Linked DNA regions of Homo sapiens: all the other regions are linked to region 3. The links are contacts of gene promoters, found by promoter capture Hi-C in human tissues and cell types (Jung and others, 2019). All regions are on one chromosome and are shown on one strand. The core of a region is centred on a gene start or on the middle of the fragment in contact, and the rest is flanking DNA. Distances in the headings are between cores, read along the strand shown.

The links. The method cuts DNA at HindIII sites, captures the fragments that hold promoters and counts their contacts. A contact is called where the count stands out against the background at its distance.
Region 1: a fragment that was not itself captured here is called in contact with the fragment with the promoter of SHISA9 in region 3 in 5 of the 25 tissues and cell types used here (dorsolateral prefrontal cortex, hippocampus, lymphoblastoid cells and 2 more).
Region 2: a fragment that was not itself captured here is called in contact with the fragment with the promoter of SHISA9 in region 3 in 5 of the 25 tissues and cell types used here (dorsolateral prefrontal cortex, lymphoblastoid cells, mesendoderm cells and 2 more).

Annotation. Positions count from the first base shown.
Region 1 is chr16:12,995,155-12,999,270 of GRCh38, forward strand. All of the region lies in intron 2 of SHISA9 (shisa family member 9), which reads left to right. Among named protein-coding and RNA genes, the nearest start is that of SHISA9, 96 kb to the left of the region's middle. The HindIII fragment of the contact is 3,962 bases long and covers 1-3,353 here.
Region 2 is chr16:12,973,760-12,977,999 of GRCh38, forward strand. All of the region lies in intron 2 of SHISA9 (shisa family member 9), which reads left to right. Among named protein-coding and RNA genes, the nearest start is that of SHISA9, 74 kb to the left of the region's middle. The HindIII fragment of the contact is 7,727 bases long and covers 1-4,240 here.
Region 3 is chr16:12,898,987-12,902,881 of GRCh38, forward strand. It overlaps SHISA9 (shisa family member 9), which reads left to right and starts at 2,612. Exons shown (of 5, transcript NM_001145204.3): 1 at 2,612-3,641. The coding sequence starts at 3,079. The HindIII fragment of the contact is 6,671 bases long and covers 1-3,895 here.

The DNA.
Region 1 (4,116 bases), core at 123-2,622, 95 kb after region 3:
GTGCAAGGTGTAAAAATCACATCAAGGTAAATGGGGAATCCATCCCCGCAAGCATTTCTCCTTTGCATTACAAACAATTCATTTACACTCTTTTAATTAGTTTTAAAAGTACAATTAAGTTATTATTGACTACAGTCTCCCCACTGAGCTGTCAAACAGCAGGTCTTATTCATTCTTTTTAGCTATTTGGGCTGGTACTTCTTGAACTTTAATGTGATTTGATGCTTGCTGAGAAAGCAGGTGCCTTGGCCACACTCATGGAGAGGCTGACTCAATAGGCATCTGGTAGAACTCAAGAATTTACATTTTAAGATTCTTCTTGGTGATTCAATGGTGGGGTTCTATAGACCACACTTTGAGAGACATGGGCCTAAGGAGGGATGTCTTAAACGCAAATGAGGGTGTCTTTTGAATGTTCATCTGGCATTCAGCCCAGCAGAAAGGATGTGCTCGGATTCTGAATTTCCTTCCACCTTCCCACTGTTAAGGTCCCTAAGCCTCAGAGGAATTCTCAAAGTAATCCTACAACAGAAAGATTTTAAGACAATTAGATCAAAACATGTTTGCATTCATTTCTAGGTATTTATTTATAAAGAAAATTCTGCCTTCAGATTTTAATTAGGCAGTTTTATCTCATTTATCCATTTAAGTGCTGCCTATATTGAGAGGCTTGAGGTCAAGATGCGTGTACGAAAGTCTTGAAATTCCTGCTTTCATAATAGTGGTCACTCCGGCACATCATTGGCCAAAGCATGGACATACCCACGGCTCTGATGGTGCTTCTTGAGTTGTGGTTTGTGCCCATGTCCCTGGTAATGCTTGTTGCATAATTCCCTGGAAATTGAAGGAGGGTGTAAATGAAGTCTCTTTGCTCTCAGAAAGCAGACAGCTCAGTTTTCTGGATCCAGGACACAAAGGGGTGATGTACACGTGCCTCTTTTTATCTGTTGCCAAAAGCTCAGATGCTTTTTGATGACAGTCTACAACCAAAAGTTGCAAATTGGTGGCCTAGAAGGTGGATCTGTCTGGCAGATATGTTTGATTTGAGCTACACAATGTGTTTTTTTCAAATTAAATTAATTTCCAGCATTGAAAAACCGAGAGGCTTTATATAAGATCCAGATTTTTGGCTTCTCTTGAAGAAAAAAAATGTGAAGATCTGGCAGTGCCAAGCCCATTTTCCCACGTAGCAACCATCAGCTGGAGGTGAGTAGCAGCTGTCCCCTTTAAACAGGGCTCTGTTCCTCAGTTTGGCACAGGCCCCCAGAACACCCTCCTGAGCCTGATGCTCTGGCTGAGTGCTTGTTACCACTTACCATCTTTCCCAGGTCAGCTTGACTTGCTGACTTGCCCACTTTACCAGCATGGCCCCCAGGGTGACTACATTGCACATCTCCACTCCTACAATTCATATCGTAGTCTGGATTTGTGCAGTGTTCAACTGTGCAACCGAACTCAGGAGTCTTGCTGGCTCCGCTGGATCAGTGGTTTTTAACCTGGGATCTATGGGTCCTCAGGGTCTTTGGATGTGTCTCAAGGGTCCCATAGAGTTGAAGGGGAGATCTTGAGGGTAGAGCCTCCAAGGGGCCTTTAATTTCTTATCTGTAGTTCAAACAGAACAGCTTCCTCTAGGTCTGGTATTTTGGAATGGTGAATAATATTTTAATTTTAAAAAAAGTTTCGTGGCTAAGAAAATTCGAAAAAGATGGATGCCAAAATTAGCTTTATATAAGTCACCCAAGTCCTTTGGGGAATAAAACCACTCAGCTTGCATGAAATTCACTTCTGCAGCCCCCAACTGCCAAATCCTTAGGCTAGACTAGTTTTTATCAGTATAATTTACATACAGTGAGATGCACATATCTTAAGTATATAAATCAATAAGTTTTGAAACATGCATATAGCCCTGCAACCAACTCCTCTATCAAGAGGAAGAGCATTTTCATCACCCCCCAAATTCCCTCATGCTTCTTTTCATTCAGCCCCACCCATCCCTCAGAGGTAACCACTGTTTTGATTTCTTTCACAGTAGTTTTGCATGGTCCTGAACATCCCATATCTGGAGTCACAACATATATAGCCCTTTGTGCCTGGCTTCTTTTGCTTGGCAGGACATCTTTGAATTCTTCCATGTTGCTGTTTGTCTTGGTAATTCATTCCTTTTATTGCTGAGTAGTATTCCATAGTATACTGCAATTATCTATATAGTCTCCTGTTGACGACATTTGACATGTTTCCAGTTTAGGCTTAACCTAGTTTTTTTTTTTTTTTTTAGACAGTCTCGCTCTGTTGGCCAAGGTGGAGTGCAATGGTGCGATCTCAGGTCACTGCAACCTCCATCTCCCGGGTTCAAGCAATTCTCCCACCTTAGCCTCGCCAGTAGCTGAGATTACAGGGACCCACCATCAAACCTGGCTAATTTTTGTATTTTTGTAGAGATAGGGTTTCACCATGTTGACCAGGCTGGTCTCGATCTCCTGACCTCAGGTGATCTGCCCACCTCAGCCTCCCAAAGTGCTGGGATTTCAGGTGTGAGCCATCATACCCAGCCTTAACCTAAAATTTAAGGCCCTTCATCATCTGGACTCTGATTTCCCATCTGGCCTCACCACATGGTTTTTGCCAAATATCCTTCATGGTGCTCACTCACTGAGGCCCTTCACCTCTGTGTACACACATTTGTACATAACTTGTTCTGCCTCTAGATATATCTCTAGATAATCATCCACCTGAGAAGCTTGCATATTTCAAGACTCAGCTTAAACGGTGCCTTCTCGTCCAGACACCATGTTATACACGGCGTGTAATAGGATAGAATGCATTGTGTTTGATTATGTCTCTTCCTTTCCACCAGAAGAGAAAACTATAGACTGGGTCCGTATTTTATTCACTGTTGTATCTGCGGTACCTGTACATAAGACAAAGTAATGCTCAGTACATATTTGTTGGGATAATGTATCCTGCCACCCAAATATAATATTTTCTTAGAGCTGAACACGCCTAGTTTCTGGACTATTCTTCATTTTCTCTCTGATAGTAAGAGGAACATATAGGGAAGCAGGTTTACTTCATAGAGCCTGGAAGGTCCATGCATTAGTTAAGGTAGGCTGTACCACTGTAGAAAAATAAGCACTAACATGTGTAATGTCTCAAAGACAATTGACATTTATTTCTTGCTCATGTGGCACTTTGAGGCAGGTGTTCTTGGCTGGTAAACAGCTTTTCCCGATGTGGTAATTCATGACCCAGCCTCCTTTTGGTATGTAGCTCTACCATCCCTTGGGGTAAAGGTTCACAGACTTTCTTTAAGTTCATGGTACTGCTAATGTCTTTGTGATGTTTTTCATAGCACCTTCTGCTAAATAAATCACTTATTCTTATTTATTTATTTTTGAGACAATGTCTCGCTCTGTTGGCTAGGCTGGAGTGCAGTGGTGCGATCGTGGCTCATGGAAATCTCTACTTTCCTGGCTCAAGCGATCCTCCCACCTCGGTCTTCCTGAGTAGCTAGGATTACAGGCATGGGCCCCCATGCTTGACTAATTTTAATTTTATTTATTTATTTTTTATAGAGATGAGGTTTCACTGTATTGCCAAGGCTGAAAATAACTTATTTTTAAGTAGTTGGATTCAAAGAACTTAATGAGTATTTATGTCTGTAACAACTCAGTGCTTACGTTGATCTTCATAAAGTACAGTTGATCCTCATTATTCATGGTAGATATATTTTCTAAGGTCACCACAAACACTGAATTAGCAAATCCCTAACCATTGCTCTTAGAGGAAATACAGGGTTGGGTTCCTGTGAGCCCTTAGTCACTACATTTTTGTCATCCAATCAATACATAGCCTGTATTTTGATGTATTTGATGTGTGTTTCTGTTTAAAGACACCTTATTTGGTATATATTATTGGTTCATTAACACTGAAATCACAGCCAGTAGCACTATAACTCATGCCTGGAGAAAGCTTACCTAACCTGTATTTTCTTTATAAGGCACATCACAGCCTTCTCATGCTTAGGAACACTAGACTAGACAGCTCTGCAGCACTACACGTGGGGGCTGCTTTAAACAGTAAAATCACCAACAGAAAGAACAAAAATGGAAAAAACCT
Region 2 (4,240 bases), core at 1,715-4,214, 75 kb after region 3:
GCACTGATTTGGGCACAGTGGAAAGAGCACTGAATTGGGACTTCAGAAGGCTATGTTCTGGTCTAAGTTTTGCCACTAATTGTCTGTATAGCCTCGAAAAAGGCTCTTCTCTTGTGTGGATATTATCTGGAGGGGATTAGTAACGTATTCTTCAAGCACCCTTCTGGATTTTGTTGCCTGTGGCATAAAAGTATGCTTGCTTTCCTTATTATGCATAAGTGGCATCAAAGTATTATTGGAAGTGAGGCCCAGAGTGGGCTGAAGACACAAGTCAAGGGTCTCCAGCACTGCCTGCCAGGATTCTTTGGTGGTAAGCCAAAGAGACCAATTAGAAAGTGGAAGGCCTAGGAAGAAAAGGGACCAGGGAGTTCCAAGGTCCCTAGAGAACGGCAATGAAGTCCTATCTAGCGTCCGTCCTTGTATTCACTGCTCATGACTCAAATTATGGGGAGAAAGCGTATATCTGGACAAGCTTGGGCCACTCCTTGGCCAGGAGAGGGCAGGACATCTTTATTGATAATTTCTCTAAAATTTTATCCAATGGAAGAGAGGTAGTTCCCTAAAGGAAAATTGACATGTTCTTACCCAAAGAAGGAGGCATGGAAACCAGGCGGGCAAAAATGACCAAGACTCCCTAAAAACACAGACTATAGTTTCTAAAAATTAAGAATATGACTTTCATGTCCATATAAGCCATGGCTAGCAAGTGATTTCTGGTGGTTTTTTTTTTTTTTTTTTTTTTTTTTTCCGGAGTTTCGCTCTGTCGCCCAGGCTGGAGTGAAGTGGTGCAATCTTGGCTCACTGCAACCTCCAACCCCCAGGTTCAAGCGATTCTCCTGCCTCAGCCTCCTGAGTAGCTGGGATTACAGGCACCCACCACCATGCCCAGCTAATTTTTATTATTAGTAGAGCGGGGTTTTGCCATGTTGACCAGGCTGGTCTTGAACTCCTGACCTCAGGTGATCCACCTGCCTCGGCCTCCCATCTAGCAAGTGATTTCTAAGTCTATGTGAAATTGTAATTTATCAGAATCTTCAGTTCACTGGGATTCTTAGGTTGCTTATTATGAAAATTATTCTGAACCTGAAACTATATATGTCTACATCTATAACTCTATATTTATCTGCATTTACATCTATCACATCCATATCTGTATCTATATCTATCTCTCTATATTTATATAAACTTTCAGGGTTGCTATGGAGCCAGCTGAGATTCCAGCATTGGTACCTTGTTAACCTACATGCACAATATTTTAATTAATTGATTAATTAATCCATCTGACAAATATTTGTTGAGCACCTGTTGTGACCGGGCACTGTGTTTACTTATCTGAGCAACATTCCCTGCTCTTGAGGGGCTTTTGTTTAAGTGTGTGTTGTTATCTTTGCTGATAATTCCACTAAAACTGTACCCAGTGGAAGAGGGGCAGTTCACATACAGCTATTATGTTCACATAATCAAAGTGTTGGGGAGGGCGTTCAAGAATAGGGTATTGGCTGGGCACAGTGGCTCACGGTGAATCACAAGGTCAGGAGTTCGAGACCATCCTGGCCAACATGGTGAAACCCTGTCTCTACCAAAAATACAAAAAAATAGCTAGGTGTAGTGGCTGGCACCTGTAATCCCAGCTACTCAGGAGGCTAAGGCAGGAGAATCGCTTGAACCCAGAGGTGGAGGTTGCAGTGAGCTGAGATTGCGCCACTGCACTCCAGCCCGGGCAACAGAGTGAGACTCCATAAAAAGAAAGAAAGGAAAAAGGAATAGAGTTATTAGCTCTGTCAGAATAATTGGATTTATGCAAGTTGTGTGTTTAAGGATTAATAAACATATTTAGGTGATAATGACCAGTGAAAGGCATTCAGGCAATGGTAAATGGGTGGGGTGGGACGGGGGCGGGGGGGGTAAGGGCATGTCACTATGAATAGGCCTGGCCTAATCAGGAATTGGTGAATTTAAGATGGAAATTGTAGGTGGGGCTGGGAGGGGGGACTGGAAAAAGAGGGAAGATGGCCCAGATATTTGGAAAGATTCTTGGTCATCCTTGAAGGACTTGAAGCCATGCTTAGTGGCCTGAGTGATAAAGAAGGATAATAGCTTCATTTATTTGAACAGCAATTTTTTTTTTTTTTGCCAGTGAACATTAAGCCAACAGAAACTTTTAGTTAAATTTTAATTCATCAGCAAATCTGATGACCCGGGGCATCCTGACTAATCAAACTTTTACTGTGATTCTCAATTAGTTTCACTTGGCAACATGTTGGAACCAATCATGGGTTGGCTGCAAATTCATGAGTTGTCTTTCCTACTTATTGCTCTAGAAAAATAAACTTATTATTATTATTTGAGACAGAGTCTTGCTTTGTCACCCAGGCTGGAGTGCAGTGGCGTGATCCCGGCTCACTGTAACCTCTGCTTCTCGGGTTCAAGAGATTCTTGTGCCTCAGCCTCCCGACTAGCTGGAGCCACAGGTGTGCGCCACCACACTCAGCTAACTTTTTTTGTATTTTTAGTAGAGACAGGGTTTCACCATGTTGGCCAGGCTGATCTTGAGCTCCTGGCCTCAAGTGATCTGCCTGCCTCAGCCTCCCAAAGCGTTGGGATTACAGGCATGAGCCACCATGCCTGGCCAAACTCGTTAATTTTTTATGGGTGTGGCTCTTTGGATTTTCTTCTGTTCTTTTGAGCCATTGACATGGGTGCATCATCTTTAGCTTGAAAGGTTTGAGACTGAGCATTGCTTTCTGACTAATTCCTATTCCGCTCCTGTGTCAACAGAATCATGGGGATTTGGAAAGACACTGAATTCCTCTGAAATTCAGTTACTCTAGATATTCAGGCTGAAGGTACTTTCCTCATTCTCAGAATCTCTCTGAATCATTTTAGGTGTTCTAAGGTGTAGATGTTGCTTTCTATTTCGAGTGTGCCTTGCAGGGGGTAAGTAAGTAACAAGCAGGTTTCAAGCAGGTGAGTGTGACAGTGGCAGACAGCAAAACATCATGGTTGAGTTAGCCCTGCCCTAATTTCACCTGTGGCTTTGCCTGGAATGTCACCCCAAGCAGAGGAAATGAAACAGCATGGTGGAAGAGGGAAGAAATATTTGGGACCTCAGAGAGTGGCTGAAAGTGAGCCAGGGGCAGCTTTTAGAAAGAAGTGGCACTTAACAATGAATCAAAAGAACATTGAGGGTTGCGTGGTTTCTCTGGAGGAGGAGAACATTGTAAGCTTGAGAGACATGAAAAAAGAGGGAGCAGTGCGAGCAGAGAATGCCTTGGACACTTTTCTTCCAAGGCCCCTGAGGTTTGGCCATATGACTTACTGTTGCCAGTGAAATGTGAATGGAAGCCTTTAAGAGCCACTGTGTGACTCACTGCAGTCTCTTCCCCCTGTCTTGGAGACGGGCTGTGTTCCAGACAATGGAGGCTCGGTTGGGCTGGGTTCCTGGGTGGATAATCCTATAGTAGGCACTGGGGTTGCGTAAATGAAAGAAATGGCCCTTGCTCTCAGGGAATTCATGATAGGGGGAAGAAGTGGTGATGGGGAGAGCACAGTTCAACTTAGGGGAATCAGGTAAGACTTCTTGGGGACTGACATTTGAGCAATGTTGTAAAGAATGAGAAGTTAAAACCACTGTGGAAGACAGTGTGGCAATTCCTCAAAGACCTAGAACCAGAAATGCCATTTGACCCAGCAATCCCATTACTGGGTATATACCCAAAGGAATAGAAATCATTCTATCATGAAGATATATGCGCGTGTATGTTCATTACTGCACTATTCACAATAGCAAAGACATGGAATCAACCCAAATGCCCATCCGTGATAGACTGGATAAAGAAAATGTGGTACCTGTCACCATGGAAAATACTATGCAGCCATAAAAAGGAATGAGATCATGTCTTTTGCAGGGACATGGATGGAGCTGGAAGCCATTATCCTCAGCAAACTAATGCAGGAACAGAAAACCAAACACCGCATGGTCTCACTTATAGGTGGGAGCTGAACAATGAGAACACATGGACACAGGGAGGGGAACAACACACACTGAGGCCTATTGAGGGTGGGGAGGGGGGAGAGTGAGAGCATCAGCAAAAATAGCTAATGCATGCTGGGTTTAATACTTAGGTAACGAGATGATTTGTACAGCAAACCACCATGACACACATTCACCTATGTAGCAAACCTGCACATCCCGCACATGTACCTTGGAACTTAAAATTTTAAAAAAAAGAAAGCATAA
Region 3 (3,895 bases), core at 1,362-3,861:
GTCCCTGGTTAAACTCTGCCCTAATACCTGCTGAAGTGGAGTCGGACACAGAGTGGAGGAAGAGGCCGGGGTTAGGAGTTGGGCGTCTAAATCCAGCCCTGGTGGGGTCATTGCTGTCCATGTGATCTCCCACAAAGGTCTTAACCTCTGAGCCACAGCTTCCTGGAACATAGGAAGCCCGCTGGAGGGTCCCTTTCCATTTCCAATGTAGTATATAGAAAACTCCCACCCTTTATATACATAATGACAGCAGATACTCCATCATCCATGCCCTAAGTGTTCCTTTCCTCTTTTGGTTTAAGACAGAGTCTTGCATAAATTAATTAATACAACCCATGCATTTTTTTGAGTGTTTACCATGCTTAGAACTGTACCCCGGGGCTGCACCCTGCAGCCCCGCACAACCCCAAAGGCTCAAATCCCTGGAGTTGCGCACAGGGCTGGAGGGCGCAGCCATGGACCCGCAAGGCAGCTCCGTATGCCTGGGTTCTAGGGGCTGGGGACATGGTATGGGAGTCGAGGCCCTCTCCATTACACAGTTCACATCTCAGTGCAGGCAAACAGACGAAAACGCAAATACATAATATAGTAGGAGGTAGACAGAAAGTTTGGAGGCCTATTTCATGTAGTGGCTGGAGGGCAGTTTCTGGACTCAAATTTCTTGGGTCAAATGTCAATTCTGGCACTCATTTGGCAGAGCTACTTGGGCAACTGGTTTAACTGCTTTGGGGCTCATTCTCTCCCTCTGTTGTGTGGGCCTGGTACTATTACCTAAGGGAGAGAGAGTTACATGAAACCAGTCACTCGGTGGTTCAGCAAATATTTCCAGACTGTCTGCTATACGCTGGGCACTGCTCTAAGCTTTCTTGAGGAGCTGCTTTTAGAAAAAGCAAGCTTAGTGAGTATGTTGCAGGCACTGAATAAATGTCAGCTCTCATTAGCTCTCACACACCAGTGCTTGTGTTTGTAGGACTCACAAGGTGGTGGTGGGCGTGGGTTGCCAGTCATGACAGACTTTCCATACTCTCCTATTTTGGGGATTCTATTATAATGAATCTGGTGAATCTGGATTAAACGTGTTCATACCTTCCCCAGATGGGTTTGGAATATAATACTCCTGGGTATGCCCTGTCAATGTCTTGCTGTGTGTTTGCAAATCTTTTTTGAAACATCAAAATGTGACTTTTTTTTTCAAAGAGAAGGGGCGATTAGCCAAACTTCTCATTTGGAGAAAACTTGCAACAGAGTCCCAATAAATCCTCCCACCCTTTCTCAATTCAGGGGACCCTAGTAAACCATTTTACATGTCGCCCAACTTTTCGTTCTCTGAAGATGCCCTGAGAAGCCCTTGACTGCAGCCAAGTGGAGAGGAGGGTTGTGGAAACATTATCTCCTTGCAAATCGCCTAGCAGCCTGCAAAGTGTATACTTAGTTAATGCAATTAAAAAACAAAACGCCGGGGCGTGGGGAGATCTAAATTTGGTGTAGCAGCTTTGGTGCAAATCCTGTTTTGGGGCTACTGGAGTCAAATTCAAGCAGAGGAGAGAAAGAGGTGGGAGAAATGAGAGAGGGCCTCCGGGGAGCTGGAATTCGCTAGGAGAGAGAGGGCAGATTTGGAAACACAGAGGAGACGGGAGGCTGGAAGCTGAGGAAGCAAGGCAGAGCTCTGCAGCCCCCGGTGAGGATTTCCGGGGGGATCCGTGGGGACAGGGGCCAGCCAGCTCCAGAGACCGATGCGCGGGCTCCAGGTCCGGGAGGGTGGCTGAGGCTGGGTGCCCAGGCCTTGCGCTGCGCCAGATCCGGGAGCGCAGAGGCGGCGCCGCGGTGTTCCCTCCTGTGGAGCGCAGAAAACGCTGCGGGGGCGAAGAGGGACAGAAAGCGGCAGGTTCGAGAGGCTGGGGGACTTCCAAGGAAAGACCTTCCAGGACACGCCATAGCCTCGGCCTTGTTCGGCTGTCCCCTCTTACCCCCGACCTTCTTTGATTCGTTCATCCCGAGCCCCTCTCCCCCGGAGGGTGCTTATCCCTGGCTCAGGGGCTTGCCACCTGTCCTTCCCAGCTCCGCCTGGGTCCTTGCTTGGGCCCAGAGAGTTGAGCCATGCGGGTTGCGCTCAGGGCTGGAGGGCGCAGCCGGGAAGGGCAAGGAGGCCCCGCACGCCTGGGAGGGGCGATCCTGACCAGACTGCACCCAGTCTGTCTTGGAGTGAAAGCCATTTAGTCTGTCCCCATCCTCTCCGAGTCATCCTTCCCCTGATGCACAGATTTCGGCCGCCGCTCCTGCACACGCACCGGTGAAAAAGCTACGAGCTGAGCCGCCTCTGCGCTCTGGACAGGGCTGAGCCGCGCCTCCTACCCAGAGAGGGCGCGGGAGGTCCTGCCGCGGTTTTCCACCTGCCTGGAAATCCGAGCGGCTCCTCTAGCCTCGGCTGCTGCCGAGCTCGCTCCTCCCCGTCCGCTCGCCTGGCTCAGCTCTGCACGCCCCCCAGCTAGCTCCCGCTCTAGTCACCTCTTCCCCGCGCCCCCGCCCCTCTAGAGCTCGCGCCCGCCCCCCCCCACCCGCGCCTCCTCTGCCCGCCCTCCTCCCCCTCCCCCTTCCCTCCTGCCCTCCCTTCATTCCACAAGTGTCGCTTCGCTCTCTTCAGCGCACTTGGCGAGCTGGTGAGGTGAGAGGGATACTGCGAGAGGGCTAGGGGCGGCCAGTCCGGGGCTGCCGGCCAAGGCTAGGCGCTGCCAGCCCGATTCTCCTCTGCTCTCCACCCCCGCCTCACCCAGTGGCCGGCCGGACCTGCACCCCGCGCTTGACCCCGCTCATCCTCCCCCCGCCCGGCCGGGCGCGCTCCTCCCCGGCCGGCCCCTCGGCGCGCGGCGCGCTGGAGGCGAACGCGGGCTGAGGCGAACGCGGGCTGAGCCGAGCGCAGTGGCCGCCGACCACCGAGCGCCCCGCGCCGCTCCCTGCATGTGCGGCCCGCGGCGGCTCGCAGCTCCCGGCAGCAGCCTCGGCAGCTTCGGCCGCGCCTCGAGAGGCGGCCGCAGAGGCTCCAGCGGCGGCCGAGCGGCCGAGCCCGGGCTGGGAGACACCATGCGCCGCGTCCTTCGGCTGCTCCTCGGTTGCTTCCTCACCGAGCTGTGCGCCCGCGTGTGCCGGGCGCAGGAGCGAGCGGGACACGGGCAGCTGGCGCAACTGGGCGGCGTGTTGCTGCTGGCGGGGGGCAACCGCTCCGGGGCCGCCTCCGGAGAGGCCAGCGAGGGCGCTGAGGCATCGGACGCGCCCCCGACCCGGGCGCCCACGCCGGACTTCTGCCGGGGCTACTTCGATGTCATGGGCCAGTGGGACCCGCCGTTCAACTGCAGCTCGGGCGACTTCATCTTCTGCTGCGGGACTTGTGGCTTCCGGTTCTGCTGCACGTTTAAGAAGCGGCGACTGAACCAAAGCACCTGCACCAACTACGACACGCCGCTCTGGCTCAACACCGGCAAGCCCCCCGCCCGCAAGGACGACCCCTTGCACGACCCCACCAAGGACAAGACCAACCTGATCGTCTACATCATCTGCGGGGTGGTGGCCGTCATGGTGCTCGTGGGCATCTTCACCAAGCTGGGGCTGGAGAAAGCGCACCGGCCCCAAAGGGAGCACATGTCCAGGTGGGCTGCCTCCCCTTCGCCCTCCCCTCGGGGCTTCGCTCTCCCTGCTCTCTCCTCCCCACCTTCCCCCAGGCAATGGCGCTCCCCACGGTCCCCGCTCCCCGCATCCCAGCCTCTCCGCTGGGGGATGTCACCGGGAAGCCAACTTCGGCTTGGAACACGGAGAAGGGGCGCTGGGCTCAGCACAGGTGTGGGTCTGAGCGTGTTCGTGTGTGTGTGAGCGTGTGTGTGTGTGTGTGTGACTCTGCTCCCTC